Linked DNA regions of Homo sapiens: regions 1, 2, 3 and 5 are each linked to region 4. Evidence: promoter capture Hi-C in 16 types of primary human blood cells and fetal thymus (Javierre and others, 2016). All regions are on one chromosome and are shown on one strand. The core of a region is centred on a gene start or on the middle of the fragment in contact, and the rest is flanking DNA. Distances in the headings are between cores, read along the strand shown.

Evidence for each region. Contacts are between HindIII fragments. The CHiCAGO score rates a contact against its expected background, and 5 or more counts as called.
Region 1: a fragment that was not itself captured here is called in contact with the fragment with the promoter of RAD51AP1 in region 4 in 1 of 17 cell types (neutrophils); the score reaches 5.3 in neutrophils.
Region 2: a fragment that was not itself captured here is called in contact with the fragment with the promoter of RAD51AP1 in region 4 in 1 of 17 cell types (activated CD4 T cells); the score reaches 5.8 in activated CD4 T cells.
Region 3: a fragment that was not itself captured here is called in contact with the fragment with the promoter of RAD51AP1 in region 4 in 2 of 17 cell types (monocytes and neutrophils); the score reaches 5.2 in monocytes.
Region 5: a fragment that was not itself captured here is called in contact with the fragment with the promoter of RAD51AP1 in region 4 in 2 of 17 cell types (neutrophils and activated CD4 T cells); the score reaches 6.9 in neutrophils.

The regions. Positions count from the first base shown.
Region 1 is chr12:3,855,474-3,858,173 of GRCh38, forward strand. The region is part of intron 1 of PARP11 (poly(ADP-ribose) polymerase family member 11); the gene reads right to left. Among named protein-coding and RNA genes, the nearest start is that of PARP11-AS1, 13 kb to the right of the region's middle. The HindIII fragment of the contact is 3,730 bases long and covers 1-2,700 here.
Region 2 is chr12:3,816,585-3,819,284 of GRCh38, forward strand. The region is part of intron 6 of PARP11 (poly(ADP-ribose) polymerase family member 11); the gene reads right to left. Among named protein-coding and RNA genes, the nearest start is that of PARP11-AS1, 52 kb to the right of the region's middle. The HindIII fragment of the contact is 1,214 bases long and covers 826-2,039 here.
Region 3 is chr12:3,900,704-3,903,403 of GRCh38, forward strand. The region is part of intron 1 of PARP11-AS1 (PARP11 antisense RNA 1); the gene reads left to right. Among named protein-coding and RNA genes, the nearest start is that of PARP11, 29 kb to the left of the region's middle. The HindIII fragment of the contact is 9,522 bases long and covers 1-2,700 here.
Region 4 is chr12:4,537,549-4,540,248 of GRCh38, forward strand. RAD51AP1 (RAD51 associated protein 1) reads left to right here and starts at 1,342. Exons shown (of 9, transcript NM_006479.5): 1 at 1,342-1,408. The coding sequence starts at 1,392. FERRY3 (FERRY endosomal RAB5 effector complex subunit 3) reads right to left here and starts at 921. Exons shown (of 14, transcript NM_020374.4): 1 at 861-921. RefSeq lists enhancers at 556-1,165, 1,166-1,774 and a silencer at 901-950. The HindIII fragment of the contact is 5,379 bases long and covers 1-2,700 here.
Region 5 is chr12:3,744,937-3,747,636 of GRCh38, forward strand. All of the region lies in intron 1 of CRACR2A (calcium release activated channel regulator 2A), which reads right to left. Among named protein-coding and RNA genes, the nearest start is that of CRACR2A, 6.8 kb to the right of the region's middle. The HindIII fragment of the contact is 4,064 bases long and covers 1-2,700 here.

The DNA.
Region 1 (2,700 bases), core at 64-2,563, 680 kb before region 4:
TCCTACACACCAATAACAGAGAGCCAAATCATGAGTGAACTCCCATTCACAATTGCTACAAAGAGAATAAAATACCTAGGAATCCAACTTACAAGGGATGTGAAGGACCTCTTCAAGGAGAACTACAAAGCACTGCTCAACGAAATAAAAGAGGACACAAACGAATGGAAGAACATTCCATGCTCATGGATAGGAAGAATCAATATCGTGAAAATGGCCATACTGCCCAAGGTAATTTATAGATTCAATGCCATCCCCATCAAGCTACCAATGACATTCTTCACAGAATTGGAAAAAACTACTTTAAAGTTCATATGGAACCAAAAAAGAGCCCACATTGCCAAGACAATCCTAAGCAAAAAGGAACAAAGCTAGAGGCATCATGCTACCTGATTTCAAACTATACTAAAAGGCTACAGTAACCAAAACAGCATGGTACTGGTACCAAAACAGAGATATAGACCAATGGAACGGAACAGAACAGAGGCCTCAGAAATAACACCACACATCTACAACCACCTGATCTTTGACAAACCTGACAAAAACAAGAAATGGGGAAAGGATTCCCTATTTAATAAATGGTGCTGGGAAAACTGGCTAGAAAGCTGAAACTGGATCCCTTCCTTACACCTTATATAAAAATTAATTTTCAAGATGGATTCAAGACTTAAATGTTAGACCTAAAACCATAAAAACTCTAGAAGAAAACCTAGGTAATACCATTCAGGACATAGGCATGGGCAAGGACTTCATGACTAAAACACCAAAAGCAGTGGCAACAAAAGCCAAAATAGACAAATGGGATCTAATTAAAGAGTTTCTGCACAGCACAAGAAACTACCATCAGAGTGAACAGGCAACCTACAGAATGGGAAAAAATTTTTGCAATCTACCCATCTGACAAAGGGTGAATATCCAGAATCTACAAAGAACTCAAACAAATTTACAAGAAAAAAATCAAACAACCCCATCCAAAAGTGGGCAAAGGATATGAATAGACACTTTTCAAAAGGAGACATTTATGCAGCCAATAGACACATGAAAAAATGCTCATCATCACTGGTCATCAGAGAAATCCAAAACAAAACCACAATGAGATACCATCTCACACCAGTTAGAATGGCAATCATTAAAAAGTCAGGAAACAACAGGTGCTGGAGAGGATGTGGAGAAACAGGAACACTTTTACACTATTGGTGGGAGTGTAAACTAGTTCAACCATTGTGGAAGATGGAAGACACTGTGGTGATTCCTCAAGGATCTAGAACTAGAAATACTATTTGACCCAGTGATTTCATTACTGGGTATATACCCAAAGGATTATAAATCATGCTACTATAAAGACACATGCACACATACGTTTACTGTGGCACTATTCACAATAGCAAAGACTTGGAACCAACCCAAATGTCCATCAATGATAGACTGGATTAAGAAAATGTGGCACACATACACCACGGAATACTATGCAGCCATAAAAAAGGATGAGTTCAAGTCCTTTGCAGGGATATGGATGAAGCTGGAAACCATCATTCTGAGCAAACTATTGCAAGGACAGAAAACCAAACACCGCACGTTCTCACTCATAAGTGGGATTGAACAATGAAAACACCTGGACACAGGGCAGGGAACATCACACACCAGGGCCTGTCGGGGGGTGGGGGGCTGGGGGAAGGATAGCATTAGGAGAAATACCTAATGTAAATGACGAGTTAATGGGGGCAGCAAACCAACATGGCACATGTATACATATGAAACAAACCTGTACGTTGTGCACATGTACCCTGGAACTTAAAGTATAATAATAATAATAAAAAAAAGATACAGCATTAAATTTTTAAAGACATGTAGGGATAAAACACGGTGATCATGAAGCAACAGAGAAATTCATTGATGAGTTTGCCAAGGTCATTGCTGATAAACATCTGACACTAGAACAAGTCTATAATGCCAATGAAACATCACTGTTTTGACATTATTATCCTAGAAAGACACCAATTACAGCTGCTGAGACAGCCTTTACAGGAATTAAGGATGCCAAAGACAGAATAACTGTGCTGGGATGTGCTAATACACATATAAGTGTAAACTTGCTTTGACAGGGAAAACCTCACGTCCTCACTGTATTCAAGGAGTAAATTTCTTACCAGTCCATTATTATGCTAAAAAAAAAAAAGGAAAAGAAAAGGCATGTATCACCAGAAACCTCTTTTCTGACTAGTTTCACAAACATTTTGTACTAGCGGCTCATGCTTACTGCAGTGAAGCTAGACTGTAAGATTTTGTTATTCCTTGACAACTGTTCTGCTCATCCTCCAGCTGAAATTCCCATAAAAAATAATGTTTATAACATGTACTTTCCCCGAAATGTGACTTCATTAATTAAGGCATGTGACCAGGATATCCTTAGATCAATAAAGGGTAAATATAAAAATATATTCTTGAATAGCATGCTAGCAACAGTGAACAGAGATAAGGGTGTAGAAAGTTTTCAAAAGTAGTTTAGCATGGAGGATGCCACAAATGCAGTTGCCAACACTCGGAAAACAATGACTGAAGACATAGTCGTGCCTGACACAACCTGGCCTAAGACTATGTTCAGTGTTGATGATGAACAATTGGTGATTTCGAAGGACTCTGTATATCATCCAAGGGAAAACAAAAAAGATATATAACCTCCTGACATATGCAAAAAATGTA
Region 2 (2,700 bases), core at 183-2,682, 720 kb before region 4:
GTTTGGCATTAGTGAATCCATACTGGTTTTCTCAAAGAAACATTAGTATCATACATAATGCCAGGCTTCATGGTCTGTAATGTCAAACTTGTCAATGTTGTGCTTCATGATCTGCAATGACTAGAATCCACTCTAAGGAAATTCTGTCTCTACTAAAAGATACAAAAATTAGCTGGGTGTGGTGGCACACACCTGTAATCCCAGCTACTTGGGAGGCTGAGGCAGGAGAATTACTTGAATCCAGGAGGCGGAGGTTGTAATGAGCTGAGATTGTGCCACCGCACTGCAGCCTGGGGAACAGAGCAAGACTCCATCTCAAAAAGAAGGCCAGGCGCAGAGGCTCACGCCTGTAATTCCAGCACTTTGGGAGGCTGAGGTGGGCGGATCACGAGGTCAGAAGATCCAGACCATCCTAGCTAACATGGTGAAACCCTGTCTCTACTAAAAATACAAAAAATTAGCCAGGCGTGGTGGCGGGCGCCTGTAGTCCCAGCTACTCAGGAGGCTGAGGCAGGAGAATGGCATGAACCCCGGAGGCGGAACTTGCAGTGAGCTGAGATCGCGCCACTGCACTCCAGCTTGGGTGTCAGAAAGAGATTCTGTCTCAAAAAAAAAAAAATTCATTTATCACTACTTTTCGGGCACAAATTCGATTGAATCTCGGTTTGAAAATTCACTGGAGTTTCTCTTAGATATTATAAATAAACTGTGGGTTAAAGGGCATGGAGTATGGGCATAGGCAGGCATGGAAAACAACGCTTACTTACTAGATTAGATGGTGCATATATACCAGTTGAAGGCAGAGGGCAGGGGCATGGTGGTTAAAGCTTTGTATCCCCACAGCACAGTTTGTTCTAGTGCCCACTACTCCCACTACTAAGGCAGCCACGAAATGCGGACATTCACAGACTATGACCTTGGTGTTCCAGAAAGGCTAAAGGTGATTTCCAGGGCCTCATGAACTTTAGTTACATCTGCAAGGAAAGTCACAGAACTACACTAAGTTCTTCACAACCCTGCCCACCTTTGCCCAGATCCACAATCATTCCCGAACTTACTGAAAGTACTGTCGCACCCACTTCTCAAAGATGTCTCAAAATTATCCACCTCTTAGGGACTAGAGTGCCAAACTGGCTAAAGTGTGTATGCCACATGCTCTGCACTGGAGCAAGAATACTTTCATGCTCTGGATTAAAATAAATTTGCCTAGATTTAGAACACCTGTCATCCTGCTGAACATCAGAGCCACTTATGGAATTTTTTAAGGTAAAAATGTCAGAACCCAGAGGTTCTGATTCAGTAGATCTGTGGCGGGTGACAGGTATCTCTACTTGCTAGTAAATTCCACTGGCGATTCTGACCTGCAACTAGCTTTGAGAATCTCTGATCTAAATTCACATTATTAACAAGATGCTCTTATTTCCTTGCTGCCTTATACTTCCCAGCTCTGGATCAATCCAACCATTTCCACTATCTGCCCTTACATTTGTACTGCTGAAGTACATTACATAACATGGTTTGCCCTATAAATTCACATACTTTAGCTAAGCCCTCAACGCTGACAGAAATCCTGTGGTTCCCAAGACAGCTCGTTCTACCCCATTTTCCACAGTAGCCATTTCAAATCTCCTCTTTCCCCTTTTCTTTCCCTCTTATCAACACCTCCCTACACTTCATTCGCTGTAGGTGACCTCCCTTCTTCCTTCACAAAAGAAACGGAAGGTATCAGAAAAGAACTCCTTAACCTAACTCCTCTTTTCGTCCTCTACCTCTACTTATCTGTAAACATAACTGGACCACCCTTCTCTATCTCCTTTCTGACATATGTTCTCAGAATTTCATCTCACCACACTTCTTCAGGAGCTAGAATCCATCAACTGCCCTTCCACTCTTTCTCTAAGTCTTTTAAATTCTCCTTCTCCATAGGTCCTTTCCAATTACAATGTTCAGTTCTCTCCCATGATTAAATTTTAAAAACATAACATAACAATAATCCCACATTAGCTGTCTTCTCACATCTCTCATCCTCCTCACTGCCAAGCTTCTTGAAAAAGTTGTCAACATTTGCTGTATACACAATATGATGTCTACCAACCTTGCCTTCATCTAAGTTACCAATGGCCTTCTTATTGAAAAATGCAAAGGAACTTTTCAAATTTATCTTACTTGACATCTTTTCAGTATGTAATCGTACAGATGGCACCTACTTGTGTAAACCACATTCTCCCTCCAGCTTCTGTGATTACATCTTCTATTGGTTTTCTCCCGCTTTCTGTGGTTGTCAGTTTCCTCCTTGGGTTTTCTCTTCCTCTGTTCATCCCTTCCAGAATTTGACCCTTGGCCCTCTTCTTTTCTTAATGTACATACGCTCCCTGGTCATCTTCTTCATTCCTATAGTTTCTATTACCCCACATTTTCTAACAACTCCAAAACCTTTGTCTCTAGTCTACACCACTCTTCTCAACTCCTGACCCATATGTCAACTGCTGTATATCAACTAATACTCCCTTTCCATCATCCCTAAAGATGTCCCTACTGATATTCCCTTAGTCAAGTAAAACAAGCCAAAAACTTGGGAGTTATCTTTCTCATCTCCCTTATTCACTCCATCGCATACAATAAGTGAGGCGCCAAGCCCTACCATTCTATAATCTTAATACCTCAAAACTCTCTTCTTTGCTCCAACACAGCAGATACCAC
Region 3 (2,700 bases), core at 60-2,559, 640 kb before region 4:
CTTCAGCAGAAAGATGGAAAGATCCTGAGTGTTTGATGACATCCTTGAGTTGCAGGATTAAGCAACCCTGAACCTGCCCATGCTGGGCTTCATGTAATGTGAAGTAATAAATATTACTTCAAGACACTTCCTGTTGGATATATGTTACTTGCATGTAAAAACACCTTAATTAATATACCATGTCTTGTTCTATTTCCTTCAATAAAATTTTATTATTTTCTTCACAGGCATCCTACACATTTTTGCAAATATGACATTTTTGAAGATTACATTTCTAATTGTCTATTACTGGTGATTAAGTAGGCTATTGATTTGTTTGTTGGTCTTATATCCAGCTTAGTGATCACTCATTAATTCTAATAGTTTATAAAGTGTCCTACGGACTATTATATCATCTGAAAATAAGAACAGCTTTCTTTCTGCTTTTAAATTCTTATATTATGTATTTTTCTTGCCTTATTACATTAACTTATACTTCAGATACAATATTGAAAAGGAGTAGATATGGTAAGCAGCTGTTTCCTCCTGACTCTGATAGGAATAATTATCAAGTTTCAGCTTTCAGGACCTTTCCATAGCACAACTCTAGGGGGCACCATTCATAGTACTTTGACATTATGAGTGGTTTTGTAATATATTTTTATAAATAGTCTCTGTTAAAGTGTTTGTGTATCAGTTAGGATTAGGCTTGGTTGCAGGCAACATAAAAAGACTGAATAGCAGTAGATTATACAAGATGGAAACTTATTTTTCATGCCCAAGATATCCAGAGGTATTCAGTTCAGGACACAATTAGTGTGCTGCAGTCTCAGAGATCCAGAATCCTATTACCATGTTGTTCCACCATCCTAATCGTTTCCCACCTTCAGGTGGGAAAACATACACTTTCCTCGAAAGATAAAGAAAGCACATTCAATTTATAATTTATCAAATTATGATTTTAAAAAACTCAATAAAGTAGGACTAGAAGGTGTGGCCAAGATTGCTAATTTCATCCCAGTATCTATTCTTCCTGTATCCTTGCAAAAGAAACCTTAATCTTTTATTCTGAATTTTCAAATTTATTTGCATAAATTTTTCCATTTTCTCTTATGGTTTGTTTAATCTCTATTCTAATGTGTTTTGTTTCTGTTCCCTTTTTTGTTCTTAATATTTTATTTATTTGTGTCATTTTCCTTGATTTGCCTCACTAGAAATTTTTCTTTCATTCAAAAACTCAAATTTTAACTATATGAACTTTTTGTAATTTTTTCTTAATTTATTGATTTTTACTTTACCTTTATTATTTCCTTTTTTCTACCCTTTGTGGCACCTTCTGGTTTGTTTGTTTATTTTCTCCCTTCTTGAATTGACTGCAAACTCATTTCCTTTTTATCTTTCTTTTATTTTACAGATAAATTTTAGGTTCTAATCACATCTTTTAATACTACCTTACTGCATCACACATTTTTTGTGATTATTTTATTTTCACTTCGTTTAGAATATTTTCAACTTTTCATTATTATTTCCTGTTGAATCTAAAAGTTAACTAGAAAGATATTTTTAAATTTCCAAACATGCAGTTTTTTTATTTTTTTTTAACTTCTTTAAAAAAAAACTCTCAGCCAGGCACTGTGGCACATGCCTGTAATCCCAGCTACTTGGGAGGCTGAGGCACAAGAATCACTTGAACCCAGGAGGCAGAGATTGCAGTGAACTGTAATCCTGCCTGGGTGACAGAGTGAGACTGTCTCAAAACAAAAACAGAAACAAAAAAACACCTCTCCTCTTTGCTTGCAGATGTCTAATTTAATTGCATATTGATACAAATATGCATAATATAAATTCTTTGAAAATTGCTAAAGTCTTCACAATATGGCCAATTTTGTAAATTTTCTAAGAAGAAAAATTTATAATTTTTATTGGGTACAGAGTTCTATATAAAACAGATAAATTTATAGATATTTTCTTCGAATATTCTTACAGAGTTTTTTTTGTTAGATTTCTCATTTGCTGTTAGAAGAATATTAAAAATCTACTATGTGTATAAAATGATCTGTTTTGGCCTTTTATATAACTTAAAACTATGTTGTTAGGTGCATGCAAGGTCATGATTGCTACATCATCTTGGAGAATGATTCATTTTATTATTGTATAGTATCTATCTTTTTCTCTATTTGTTCTTTTTGCAACAAATTTTATCTTGTCATATATTAATCTTGCTGCTCAACATTCATTTGGAATTTACATGATCTTTTTTTTCTCACCCTTCAATTTCAAACCTTCAGACTGATATTGTTTTGTGTGTCTTTCTTCTCAATTGCATATTGTTGGGTCTTTCTCTTTCATTCATTTTCATAATCTCTGCTTTTAGTGGTTGGCTTTAATCCACTGGCAAGTATTGTGAGTTATTACAGTCATTCCTTGGTATCCACAGGGGATTGGTTCCAGGACTCCCTGTGGGTGCCAGAATCCACAGATGCTCAAGTTCCTTATATAAAATGGCATAGTGTTTGCATGTAATCCATGCACATCCTCCTGTATACTTTAAACCATCTCCAGATTACTCATAATACCTAATACAATGTAAATGCTATGTAAAGATTTACTATACTGTATGTTTTAAATTTGTGTTATTTTTATTGCTGTATTCTTCTTTTTAACTAAAAAAAATGTTTAATCTCACGTTGGTTGAATCCAAAGATGTGGAAGCTGTGGATA
Region 4 (2,700 bases), core at 92-2,591:
GTTATTTAAAAAGATATCACCTGAAATATAAAAAAAACTCAAAGGACTTTTGTACATGTCGTGGGGCGGGGCTAAGTTGAATTATCCAGACTATATTTTCAAATCTGTATGTAGGCTATACACAAAAATCTTCGTCTATTTCACCATAATGCAAAGAGATAGGGTATTTGTTTTACTCAGAAAGAATTAAAATTAAACGTAAAGCAATACAAATTTTTATAATGTTAGAAAACTACCAAAACTACATAAAGGTATATTCTATGATGTAGAAATTTCATTCCTAAGTATATATCCAAATACACACACACGCATATGTTCGCTAAAGTACACCCAGAAGAATGCTCATATAAGTTTTATTTATAATACCCCAAACTGGAAACAACCAAAATGCGTATTAGTAGGAGAATAGTAAACTTGTTTATTTTATGAGATAAATACTACACAGCAATAAAAAAGAATCAACCACTGATAAATGCAAAAATATGAATGAATCAGGAATGTTGAAAAAAAAAAGAGAAGGCAGACACAAAAGCTCTGGTTCAACATTTAGACTTGTGTTTCAAGAAACTGATAACTTTAGTTCTTTCTCCTCTCGCTCTTTTTTTAGACTAATGGTCTATCCTGAAGCCTGGGTTCAGTTTTAGCAACCGTGAAATCCAGGAAGGTTTCCCATAAGAAAATGGGATGGAAGGTCTGGACCGAACACACACAGCCAACAGAGCGGAGGCTCTGAGGCTCACATTAATCAGGGAAAAGGAAGACAGACGGTCGAGCTGAGAAACTTCAGCCGGGTGAGGGGACTAATCCCTCTGTAACGGTTGTCAGTCTGAAAGGGCATCCTCACTCGGTTCTGGGCTCACCTCGTCTAGTTCCGAAGTCCTGGGCAGTCCGCTCACTCGAGCTGTCAGCGCGTCCTGCACTGGGAAACCAGCTGACTTGCCGACATACTTTTTCCACACCGCGGATCCGCGAACGTAGATTCGCCACATCCTTTTCTATTTCCTGGCATCTTGTAGAAAATTTCTCAGTCCAAGTGCCCCTATGTCCCAACCTGTTTCAATTTAACAATTTGAAAGGTGCAATAAGGTGTATTTCTATTGTTATTCTGTATTTCAGAGACAGGGCAAATCCGCCGTTGTGACGAAAGTGCAGGGACAAAGCACAAACTCGGCTCTGGTGGACCGGATACGGAAAAGCGGTGCCTTGGGGAGGGCGGGAGCAAATTCGCTTTCCCCACAGCGCGTGCGCCGCCGCAAGCATGGCTGGTGATGATTGGACGACTGGTAACAGGGGGCGGAGGGCTCCGAAGTCTGGTTTTGGGCGGGAATTGAAACCGCCGCTGAAGCCAACAAGAATTTGAGAACTGTAAATACCAAGCCTTGAAAGGGACCATGGTGCGGCCTGTGAGGTGGGTAGTTCCTGACATTCGTCGGGGGTGGGAGGAAAACTAAGGGAAAAGACATGAGACTAAGGGGAAAGGATCGAGTAAGACCGGAGGGCAGCGATGGTGGGGTTAGGATGGACGGTTATCAAGAACCCAGTCTCCAGTGAGAGCCACCCGTTGCTCAGAAGTATCCTAGCATCGTAGCTTTTTCCTTCTCTTTGCCTCCCTTCACAACCGTCGCCGTTTCTTTTACCAAGACCTTGTTAGCGTTTGAACAGCGCTTTACATTTCACCGAGCGCCCAATTATGTGTTATTTTATTTGTTTATCACTGTAGTTATTTGATATAGAAAGAGTAAGCATTCCTGTTGTATTGATTTAACATTTCTACGTATAGAGGGTAAGTTATCTGAGTCATACAGCCCAGTAAGTGGCAGGGCAATACTCAAACCTAAGTCATCTCACTCAAGATCCTCTGTGCTTTCCATCGTGGTATTAGAAACGATTCTTCTATTTACACAGTTGAGTGCCATGGAAGCCTATAGTTAGCCATTCATTTAATAAAGTTATTGAATATATTCACTTCTTTAGTGTACGAGGTGCTGGAGGTTACATTCCAGTGGGAGGTGAGGTTAGGGGGCCGAAAATAAGCCTCGAAATATGAGAGTGCGAAAGAGGAAAGCACTACTTTAAATATAGTAGTTAATATGTGACTCTGAGGCGATAATGCATGCACTGAGTCATGAATCAGGGTAGAGGGAATAGGAGCCAAGGCCCCATACTTGACCATATTTTAGGGACAGTCTAATGCTATAGGATTAACAAGCAGTGGGGAGAATCGTAGGGGGATTAGGCCAGAGAAATAGGCAGGTGCCAGAACAGATAGGGTCTTGTAAGTCTTAGAAAGGAGTTTAGGTTTTATTTTAAGTCAATGGGAAGTCAGTGGAGGGTTTTAAGTAGGGGAGAGGAATCTAAGTTTGCTTTTATAAAGGTCACTGGCTGTTGGTGGAGAATAAATGATGGATAGGGTGACCAGAACGGGAGCAGGAAAATCAGGTATTATATCATTGGAGAGCGGTTTGGGATAGGGTATTATTAGTGGGCATGGAATGGAACAGATGAATTTGGGATGTATTTCGGAGGCACTGTGGACAGAACTTGCTGATGAAGTAGATGTACAGGTAAGGGAAAGAAAGAATCAGAGATGACTCCACAATAGTTTTGGTCTGAGCTACAGGATGGATGATCTTTGTATTAAGATAGGGAAGACTAGGAAAAGGAAGGTTAGGAGGTGTGAGGGATCAAGATTTCTGTTTC
Region 5 (2,700 bases), core at 66-2,565, 790 kb before region 4:
TTTATGTTATGTATATTTTATCACAATGAAACAGTGAAGATCCAAAAACAAACAAACAAAAAACCCTAAACCTCAACTCTCTGCCCACTGAAGACAGTCCAATAAAAATAACATAAAGAAGAGTTGGATGGCCTTCCCTCTGTGGGATTCTGTAGGGAAGGCTGTGTCCATGCACCCAGATGCCACACCAAAGGCCCTGTGAGTCAAGATCTCCATCCTGTGGATGATCTGTATCCGGGGTGTCTGTTCAATCCAAACTCCCAGAAGACCCGAAAACCAAAAAGCTACCGCAGGCCATGGCACCACTGAAAGATCTAGAGGTTCTTCTGCTGAACAATGTGTTATCCCTGATGGTATCTCCCCAATGGCAATTTCTGACCGTGATTCAGATGACACTACCCACAGAAATGAACTTCCAAGAACTCCTCCTCCCTCAATCCCACCGTGTCCTCCTCTGGGGATGGTGGCGCTGCTGCTGTCTTGCTCACAAAACCTGCCTTGGGAAGAAAGCCCCTAAAATTTCAGCCCTGCTCAGGTTAAGAAATAGTAGCTTTAGGCCAGGTGCAGTGGCTCACACCTGTAATCTCAGCACTTTGGGAGGCCAAGGCAGGCAGATCATTTGAGGTCTGGAGTTTGAGACCATCCTGGCCAAGATGGAGAAACCCCGTCTCTACTAAAAATACAAAAATTAGCCAGGCATGGTGGTGCATGCCTGTAATCCCAGCTACTTGGGAGGCTGAGGCAGGAGAATCGCTTGAACCCAGGAGGTGTAGGTAGGTTGCAGTGAGCCAAGATCATGCCATTGCGCTCCAGCCTGGGCAACAAGAACAAAACTTCGTCTCAAAAAATAAAATAAAATAAAATAAAATAAAATAAAATAAAATAAAATAAAGAAAGAAAAGAGAAGAGAAAAGAAAAAAGAAATAGTATCTTTGACAAACCATCTCCTTCCCTACAGAAAAACAAAACCTGGCTGAAGGCAGGAGGTGTCTCTCTGGCCAGTGTCTCTCATCTCCCTCCCGCTGACCTCCCTGACCCCATTCATGTCTTCAGAAGGGCATGGCCCTGTCGAGGGGGTGAAGGGCTGTTCCTGTGCCTCAGGGCCCTGTGCTGTAAATGCTTCCCAGCCTGGGCTGTACTTCTAGGTGCAGCTCAAATCCTACCTCCTCTCTAAAGCCATGAGAAATATACTTTACTTACTTGCCTATAAACACTAACATCATTGGTTATTTTTCATATCATCTCCTGCTATGAGCTAAATTATGTCCCCCCGACAATTCATATGTTGAAGCCCTAACTCTCAATGTGATGGTATTTGGAGGTGAGGACTTTAGGAGGTGATTAGGTTTAGATGAGGTCATGAGGGTGGGGCCCTCATGATGGGATTAGTGCCCATCATGAAGAGACACCAGAGAGCTCTCTCTCTCTCTCTCTCTCCCCATCTCTCTCTCCTCCCTCTTCCCCACCCTTCCTCCACCCTCCCTCTCCCTTCTTCCTCTCCCATTCTCTCCCTCTCTGTGCCATGTGAGGACACAAAAAGAAAGTGGCTTTCTGCAAGCCAAGGAGAGAACCTTCACCCACCAAACTGGCACCATGATGTTAGACTTCCAGCCTCCAGAACTGTGAGAAAATAAATTTCGGTTGTCTGTGATATTTTGTTCTGTCTGCCAGAACAAAGACATCCCCTCAAAGGGAGTATGCATGCCTACTACAGGGACCACCCCTCTCTTCTTAGACCAGACCCCCTGCAGGACCCTTTGCTGGCACAGCAGGGACTTAGCATGCATGGAAGCTAATTAGGTGAGAGACTCTGCTTCTGCCTCCTGGAGAATTTCAATCCAAGACAAGCACAACAAGTTGTGAAGGACCAACAAGGGGAGGAGTACATCTCAACAAGTTGGTTGAGAAGGACCAACAAGGGGAGGAGTACACCCTTAGCATGGAACTCAACCACAAGCTCTCAAAACAGGTAATGTCACCATGACCCATGGGATCACATGTGCGTGGACCACGTGCTTCCTCACATCCCTTAACTCACCTGACATGGATCAACAGGTAACTCCTGTATTCTCACTTGAATGAAGAGAAGAGAAACTCAGGTTTAGAGGCTAATCCCAAAGACATATGACTGGTTAGAGTAGAACCCAGACTCTGCACTAAGCATTCAGAGGCGGCAGGCTGTGGAACGCTTGAGGACTTGGCCCTAGAGCCAGACTGCCTGGGTTCAAATCCCAGCTCGGCCTCTTATCAGCTGTGTGACCCTGGAAAAGTTACTCAGCCTCTTGAAACAGATGAGGAAGATGGCTTCCTCATCTGTAAAATGGGGAGGATGATCATAACAGTGCCTATTTCATAAAACGGTTACAAAGATGAGTTCATTTATGCCAAACTCTCAGCCATGCCCAGTGTGTTTCTGTGCATCAACCTTGAGGTGCAGTGGAAAGAGAGTCCCTGGAGTTCCGTCTTTGGTCAAGGTGGGGCTGCAGGAAGCTGGCCTCCCTCCCGCATCAGCACCAATCCAACCCTCTATCCCAGTGGGTGAAGGTATGTGGTTATGTGCAGCGGACAATGTGGCAAAGCTGCATCCATTTACCAAGAGAACTCTGATGGACTACAAATCCTGGACCTCAATGCTGAGCAATCTCTAAAGTAAACAAAGTGAAAATAAACCAATCACCCAGGTAATAGAAGATTTTCCTC